Linked DNA regions of Homo sapiens: all the other regions are linked to region 1. The links are contacts of gene promoters, found by promoter capture Hi-C in blood cells and fetal thymus (Javierre and others, 2016). All regions are on one chromosome and are shown on one strand. Each heading gives the region's core, a stretch centred on a gene start or on the middle of the fragment in contact. The rest is flanking DNA. Distances are from core to core; before and after follow the strand shown. Region 1 holds the start of NEUROG2 (neurogenin 2). Region 2 holds the start of PANCR (PITX2 adjacent non-coding RNA). Region 3 has its middle 11 kb from the start of PITX2.

Region 1 (2,528 bases), core at 13-2,512:
GAAGAGCGCCCCCGGCAGGCCCCCGCCGCCGCCCCCGCAGTGATCCGCCAGGCGCAGGGTCTCGGTGAGTGCCCAGATGTAGTTGTGGGCGAAGCGCAGGGTCTCGATCTTGGTGAGCTTGGCGTCCTCGGGGAACGTGGGGAGCACCTCGCGCAGCGCGTCCAGTGCCGCGTTGAGGTTGTGCATGCGGTTTCGCTCGCGGTTGTTGGCCTTCAGTCTACGGGTCTTCTTGATGCGCTGCACCGTCTCGGCCGTCTTGGCGCCTCGGGAGACGGCCCGCGCCCGGGAAGGGCGCCGTTTGCAATCGTGTACCAGACCCAGCAGCCGTGCGGGCCGGCAGCCCTCCGCACCCGCAGCCACGCCGCCCCGCGCCCCCTGCCCGGCCTCAGCCCCGCGCTGCCGACGCGCCCCGCCTGACGCGCCCGGCTCCTCCTCCTCTTCTTCGTCGGCGCTGGATGACAGCGGGGTCAGGGCCGCCAAGGCGGGGGAGGCCGATCCGAGCAGCACTAACACGTCCTCTTCCTCCTTCAACTCCAAGGTCTCGGATTTGACGAACATCCTACCGAAGAGAGAAAGGGGAAAAAGGCAGTGAGGTGTAAGGAAAGAAACAGAGGCGCGATCTTCGTGTCACAGGGGCGTGCTCCGGCGCGCACCCGAGAAGACCAGCTCCGAATGGCGCGGAGCAGGAAGGCGAAGGAAGAAACCCAGGCAGTGCTAACCAAGGTCAGGAGCGCCGCTAGCGCTCGCTGTGACCCTGCTGCCAGTCAGCCGGGTCCTGCCCTCCGCGGGCGGTCCTGCGTTCCCTCCCCGAGAAGGGACTGCGGCCTCCGCGACAAAGATTCTGCGCGGAGCAGAGGGCGTGCGGGTGTGGTTGGACTGAGTGCGGGGAAACCACCTGCGTAGTTGGAAGCGGTGGCTCGAATACTTACTTAGTTGGCTCTAACTGTGCCTCAGCGTTGCTGTGACTTTGGCCTGTGCCGGGAATCTCCGCGCAGCTGCGAGCGCAGCGCCGGGTCCTTCGCCCGGCGTGAAAGCTGCAAGCCCGGCGCTACTGTGGCGCAGCTCCGCGGGGGACCTCTGCGACCGGCGAGTTTGCCAAGAGCCCCGGCGGCGGCGGCGGCGGCCCGCCCGGGTCTCGTGTGTTGTGGTGGTGGTGCGTGTCTGTCTGTCAGTCAGTCCCTGGCCGTGCGGCTCCTGGCACGCGACTCCCAGGCACTCCAGTTAACGCGAAGCTGCTTGTGGTTCAGTGGCTGCGTGTCTGGCACACGACTCTCCTTAAAACCCCTTATATACCACCAAGAAAACAATCAGATCTGCCCCGGGCCCCCTCCTCCCCCGCCACCGCCTCCTCCTCCTGTCAGTCCTGCCCCCCTTCTCCCCCGCTTTTCCCTCCTCTGGCTTATTCTTTTCATTGCATTATCATCATTCATTTCTTCCTCTTTCTTCACCGCCTTTCCCCCTCCCTTGGCCCTGCCATCCATCCTCCTCCTCCCACCACCCCCGCCTCTCTTTTCCCCCTTTATCTAATCAACATAAAATGGTTCTAAAGCTCCTGTTGGAGCTCCGGGCTGCGGCCGGAGCTGGCGAAGCCGCAGCGGCCGCAGAGGCTCAAGCTGCGGCTGTTGTCGCCGCCGCTGTCCATTGTGATTGGTGGCTCGCGCTCGGCTGGAGCGTGCCGCTAATTTATTAATGAATGGAGGTCGCGAGGCGCAGCTGGCCAATCAGGGCGCCCTGGACTCCGGGAGGCCTGCGAGCCACGCGCACCGGAGCCCGCTCCCTTTCAGCAGCTCATTAGGGGCCCGAGCGCTGGGGGCGGATGGGGGGACCCGTGCTACCGCCCCCGCCTTCGTCCTCGCTGCCGCCGAGGCTCCCCCCGCCCGGCGCGCGCGCAGGCACCGCACCCGGCGCTGCCGGCCCTCCTAACTCCCGGGTGATGGGAACTAGGAATTAGTTAATGGGGGTCAGAATCCCGGGGAAAGCAGTTAGCCCTGTGGTGCTGCCGGGCGTCTCTTGGCAAAGCCTCTTAGGGGTTGTATCAAATAGTAAACGATTTTAAAATGGATTCATTTGGTTAGGGGAGGAGAATGGCGTGGATGGAGAGATGTGGACACCTCGTGAACAAGTGTGTTTGGGGTCCGTCGAAACTGGCGTGGGAGAGTGAAGGGAGAGGACACTGGGGATTCAAACAGGCGTCTCTTGGGAGGGGAGGTCGGATAGGGGAGCAGTTGATGAGCTTTTAGAGGATGTGAGAATGAAATCACTCACATGTTAGAGCTGAAAGGATCCCCCTCATTTTACATACAGGAAACTGAGGCTCCGGGCACTGATGCAGGTTTTGCTGGGGTTAACCCAGTTTATAGCCTGGAGGGACAGCAAGGAGGCTTCCTGCGTGGGTGGCAGCGAACCGAGCGGGAGGAGCGGCAGAGCTGCTGCTCCTGCAAGCAAATGCGCTGCGCTGACATTTCTGTGACCTCTGCTCCGCGCTGGGGGGCGTTGTAGGGACAAGGGGCCCATCTTCCCAATTCTGC
Region 2 (2,528 bases), core at 22-2,521, 1.9 Mb before region 1:
GAAATGTATTGTTACAAAAGGAGTAGAAATGACTTTTAAAGGTAATTAAGTATAATTAAATATATCTTCAGGGGGTATTTCATTTCTTGCAGGATTCTCTACTCTTCAAAAAAATCTAAAATCAACATTTACATTTTAAAAATGCATAAAATACTCAGCACAGAAGTGAATGAAGTTATGCATCCCAAACACAGTAAATTCTGCTTTCTATCTTTTCAGATAGACAGTCAACAATGGGAAGTCCTCCCTTTGGGGAGGGGGCAGGGAAGGGTGGGAGGGGCCAAGTGTGATAAATTTTTAAGATTAGAGTAAAATTTCCCTGGGTTCATCTGCTAGAACCTGAAAAGGTAAATCAGTTACGTGTTTACAATGGTGTTTCTACTTAACCCCCTTAAAAAAAAAAACTCGAATTACCATTTTCTCAAGTTCAGTTAATGAAATGTTTGGGAACCTGGGGAAGAAAAGCTATTTTTAAAAAAATTCCTTCTGAAAATCTGCTACCAGAAATTCCTCTCGTTTACTTCCAGACTTCTTCAGTCAACCACGTTTCTTGCTTCCCGGTGTGCTTAGATTAACTGCAGTTCCTCAGGGGGTTTATAAATCAATCAATAGGGAGTCTATATTCATAAAGGCCTCTGATCTAATTACACCCCCTCCTTTTTTCCCCCTCTCTAAAAAAGTTAAGTCGCGGAGCCAGGGACTCCCAGGGTAGCTCCGTCCACTAAGGGCGGCTGGAGGCTGGGGAGTCCCGGCGACGGCGGCGGGGGCATCCGTGGATTAGGATGTGGATTGCAGGACAGACCTTTGTTTGGTCACATTCGCGACAGGGATTGGGGGAAGGGTCGTCCTCCTTCGAGATCACGCTGGATTTTTATAGACTCGCCTTAAAAGGGCTCACTCTTCACAGGGTTAATTTATACGGCTTTCGAGGAATATTAGGACTTTTAAGACGCTGTTTATATTGTCCCATTAATTTTTTTGTTACACTCCTAACCCCCACCCCTACACCCCCCGGCTTCAGCATCTAATAGAAAGGGGGTGGGGGTGAGGGAAAAAGCAGGGCAAGGAGGCGAAGAGAATTTGCCTTCTAATCAAACTACTTACTCGGCCCAGGCTCTCCAACATGTTTTTAAAAATTAAATTTCTAACCAAGTCGTAAACACTAAAACTCAGATTTAGGAATTGGGAGGAAGGAGAGACAATCATGGGCTGTATACACCTTTTCCCAGGTCTCCACTAATCTGAAATCGGTATTAGCGGAATGAAGACTTTGGGGCCTTGGAAATTTTTAAAGAGGTTTACTTTTTTTTTTTTTTTTTAATAAAACAAAACCCGAGGATAGGCCAAAGATACCGAGAGAAGAAAAGGTGCCTGCTAGTAACAGGTGAGGGATGGAAGGGGGTGGCGGGGAGAAAGCCCCCAGACGGCGGATCGTCTGCGCGGGGTTCCTGCCCCAGGCCTGGCGAACCTCTGAGCGCTCAAGGAGCACGGCGGCAGTGCGCTGAGGCCAGTGAGGCCTGGGCGCCTCCGGGCCCAACCTCGAGCTCGCCATTTTTGAACCCAAGCGGGGAAGGTTGGTGCTCATGCTATAGATTATGTTAAAGGTTCCTTTAAGCACTTTAATACACAACTAGCTCAGAAATCATTAAGAGACCTAGAGAAGGAGAAAAAATACCCTCACACTCACCGGTAATAAGTGTTGACATGCAGCAAAAATCGGTTGAGTGGAACCGAGGTGGTGGTTGCAGCGACGGCTAGAGGGGGACCCGTGCAGGGGCGGGAGGGGCGAGGGGACTGACTGCACCGGCTCTGGGAGCTAGGTTTCTCTCGCTGGATGGGAAAAGGAGGTGCGGAAAGGGGCAGGCGGCCTGCGGGCTAGCGGGGATGAGAGTTGTGGGGAGAACGGAGGAGAGAGTAAAATTATTCCTTTTGGAAGTCCAAGGGAAGGGAGCTGAGGTGAGAGAAATGGCCTCTCTTAGGTCCCAAGTCTCCGCCCCCAGCCTGCACCACTCAAGTCGGGGAAGTGACAACTCTTCCTAAACCTCGACTTCCATTTTTTGTTTCCTGCAGATTGATTGATGTCCTCGCGTTGTTCTAGTTCAGCAACCAAACTAGGCCGAGGTACACCTCTTTTACCCAGAGCTCCCAAATCACTCACCAACCTGCAGGAGACCTAAATCCTCCGGGCAGGTCTCGTTAGCGCTTCCAGCCCCCATCCCCAAATCCCCTCTTCTAGCTCCTTCCTTCCCCTCCGCCCTTTGGCCCTCCCCGCCCCCTACCAGGCTGAGAGGCGGAGAGGCCGGGACCGCTGGGCCCTGCGGCTCCAGAAGCCAAAGTCCGCCCGTGGGGACCGTTTTCCTCTCCACTGCTCTCAAGTGAACAACATGGTGGGAGGTGACCCTCGTCCAAAGGGCTTTTATCTGCCCCCCACTGCTGCGTGATCCCTCCGCAAGTCGGAGGCAGAGCTTTAAAAAGAAAGAAAGTGTGCGTTGAGCACTGATCTTAAATCGGGGACATTATCTGCGATC
Region 3 (2,528 bases), core at 20-2,519, 1.9 Mb before region 1:
ACCTTTTTGATTTCGGAGTCTTTGGAGAAGAGACATTCAACGGCCGCCGGCTGCACGCCTGGGCCACGCGCGCGCCCGCCCCACGTGCGGAGAGAGGCGTCCCGGACCGCGGCCGAAAGGAGCCGGGGACGGGAGGAGGGGGAGGGGCGAGGCAGGCCGGAGGAGAAAGAGGGACAAAGAGCAAAGACCCAGTTAGAGGAAAGAGCTGACGGCATCCCCGTCCCCCGGACCCTCTGGCAACCCGGGGCAGGATGGCGTACTCTTTCTGCGCCTCCCCGGTTGCCGGCGGTTCCAGCCGGGAGGAGTAGGCTGGGGGGCTTCGGTACACAGCGCGCCGCTGCTTCCTAGTCCACCGCCCCGCCACAGGGAGAGGCCACTGGCGATTTGGTTCTGATTTCCTTCCTGCCCAGGCTGGCCCCTCGGGGAAGCGCCCCTCGCTGGGGCCTCGCCGCAGGGCCAGTGCCCTCTTGCCGCCCTCACGTGGCGCGGCCTCCCGTCCGATGACCCGGGCAGGAGAAGGGGGTTCTTACCTAATTGCACACACGCCGACACCAGTTTGCGGCAGTTGGTCTCCATTCCCCGTTATCTGCAAAACAGAAGAGAAGGAAGGCTGTAAGAAGCGGCGGCCGTCGAGTGAGCAGGGCTCAGATGAGACTACGTTACACTAGCTGTTAGGCGCCTACTGTGTGCTAGGCTTCAGGCGTGTTTTTCCGACCTGACAGCCTCTGGCTGTGCAGCAGCATCTCCAGCCTAGCCTCGGGCCCAGGACATTTATTTATCAAGAGGGGATCTCCCTCCAGAGTTGCCGCAAAAGTGCCCAGAGGTTAGAGGACTATAAAGCCACAGTGTGCTGGGGAGGCTGTGGACCTACTTTCAAGAATCTCGGTGCCGGGGTTAAGAACTCATCTGAACGCAATGGCAGCGGGAGTGGGTGGGTGGAGAGGACTTTTCTCTTTGGGAAGCTGTATGCAAAGACCACCCTTCAGTGCTTGTCCATTAGTTGGAGCTCGGTAAACATTTGTAGAACATCAGCGCCAACGTGCCCCTGTCCTAGACAGCAGTTTCCCTCGGTTTTCTGTAATTCTGAAACGAACGGGCTCTTGGCCTAGGGTGTTTCAGGAGCGAGCTGAGTTCGGGCCTCTCATCCATCAGGAGCCACTTTTCCATATTTAGCCACACTTTCTCCTAGAGATACTAACCCGGCCATTTATTTACTTACTACAAATAATTACCCTAAAGTATGATTTAAGATCGCAGAGGAGAGACACTGGGTGGACTGAGCGAGACTGAGGAGAGCAGGGCAAACGTTCTTGGAGGGTTTACTGCCCGCCAAGGACGGAGAAATAGCTCTGGTATAACTGCTACCCAGTTCTCCCCCTTTCTCTCCCGGGCGAGCCAAATCTTTTTCACGTTTTCAACCACAACGCAGCGAGCCAAGCATTTAACGCGCTCCCCCTTCTCTGCCACAGGCAAGCCGGGAGAGGTGGGTCTCGAGGGGCTCCACCGGGTGGGTAGAAGAGCCGCGGTTGCTTTAAAGACAAGAAAAGAAGGTCCAGGGCTCCCTAGGCCCCTTCGATCTCAGCGCCTGCCTCTCTCCACGCTAACCAGGGTACGCCGACGACCGGAGGGCCCACTTCGCGCGGGTGCGGGGATCGGGGTGGGAGCAAGCGTTGTCGGGTTGGCGGAGGCACAGAGGCGGGGCAGGGAGCTGCGGGCCTGCCTCTGGCCTGAGTACCGTTTCCCTGCGTCTCGGCCTCTCCTGAAGGGAGCTGGGCCCTGGGGAGCCTCTGGCCAAGGTCGCTGCCTACAGGAGGGGCTGCCCGGCGCTGTGGCGTGGGGATCCAGGGTGGGGACGGCCAGGCGGTTCCCCCACCCGCTAGCGAGAACGCGGGCGGGGACTCTGCCGATTCGATCCTTGTGGGCCCGTGGGCCCAGAAGTAGCAGTTTGGCGGCTCCAGATTTAGTGATTCTGCAGTAAAATCACAGGATTAGTCCCTGATTGAGATGTCTGTTCGTGAGATATTACAAAATTCATTATCACAGCTTTCTACTAACTCGATATGAAGTAACACAGATGGGATTTTATTAGTCCAGACTTCAAATGTTTACTTATGATAATTTCGGAGGAAATTTGCATGTCATCATCATTTCGATAATCTTTTTTTTTTATATGTCTGAACTGGCTGCATTATTAGCTGGTAGCCGGAGCACTGCAGATGGTAACTGCAAATAGTTTTTATTTATTTATTTTTTTTAAAGAATGAAATATACAAAAGAAAAAGATTGCGTTGCTTGGTGTAAAGTCAGTCAATTATTACACATTCTTCCCCCCACTTCCCCGTGCTTCAGTGCTGAAGACCAAACAAAGCAATACAAAACAAATCTTCAAGAACTCATAGAGCTCCACTCTAAGGACTGAAAAGAAGGTCAAGGCGTGTTCCTTAGCTCACTCCTACATGTCCTTGTGACTTGGAGATTTATTTTGCAGTCAAAATGAGCCTTGAGACTTGCATTTTTATGCTTCATTT

What was found. The method cuts DNA at HindIII sites, captures the fragments that hold promoters and counts their contacts. A CHiCAGO score of 5 or more calls a contact.
Region 2: a contact is called between a fragment that was not itself captured here and the fragment with the promoter of NEUROG2 in region 1, in 3 of 17 cell types (total B cells, endothelial precursors and naive B cells). The highest score is 12.6, in total B cells.
Region 3: a contact is called between a fragment that was not itself captured here and the fragment with the promoter of NEUROG2 in region 1, in 1 of 17 cell types (total B cells). The highest score is 16.6, in total B cells.

Annotation. Positions count from the first base shown.
Region 1 is chr4:112,514,918-112,517,445 of GRCh38, forward strand. NEUROG2 (neurogenin 2) reads right to left here and starts at 1,263. Exons shown (of 2, transcript NM_024019.4): 1 at 930-1,263; 2 at 1-559. The coding sequence starts at 558. NEUROG2-AS1 (NEUROG2 and ZGRF1 antisense RNA 1) reads left to right here and starts at 462. Exons shown (of 4, transcript NR_161159.1): 1 at 462-723. LOC124900760 (a long non-coding RNA gene) reads left to right here and starts at 1,888. Exons shown (of 2, transcript XR_007058231.1): 1 at 1,888-2,122. RefSeq lists silencers at 1-94, 355-424, 1,745-2,024 and enhancers at 2,034-2,528, 2,165-2,264, 2,365-2,484. The HindIII fragment of the contact is 11,776 bases long and covers 1-2,528 here.
Region 2 is chr4:110,613,620-110,616,147 of GRCh38, forward strand. It overlaps PANCR (PITX2 adjacent non-coding RNA), which reads right to left and starts at 1,839. Exons shown (of 2, transcript NR_147203.1): 1 at 1,688-1,839. RefSeq lists an enhancer at 2,442-2,528. The HindIII fragment of the contact is 2,630 bases long and covers 1-2,528 here.
Region 3 is chr4:110,632,423-110,634,950 of GRCh38, forward strand. It overlaps a transcript of PITX2 not described here. Among named protein-coding and RNA genes, the nearest start is that of PITX2, 11 kb to the left of the region's middle. RefSeq lists an enhancer at 1-407. The HindIII fragment of the contact is 9,925 bases long and covers 1-2,528 here.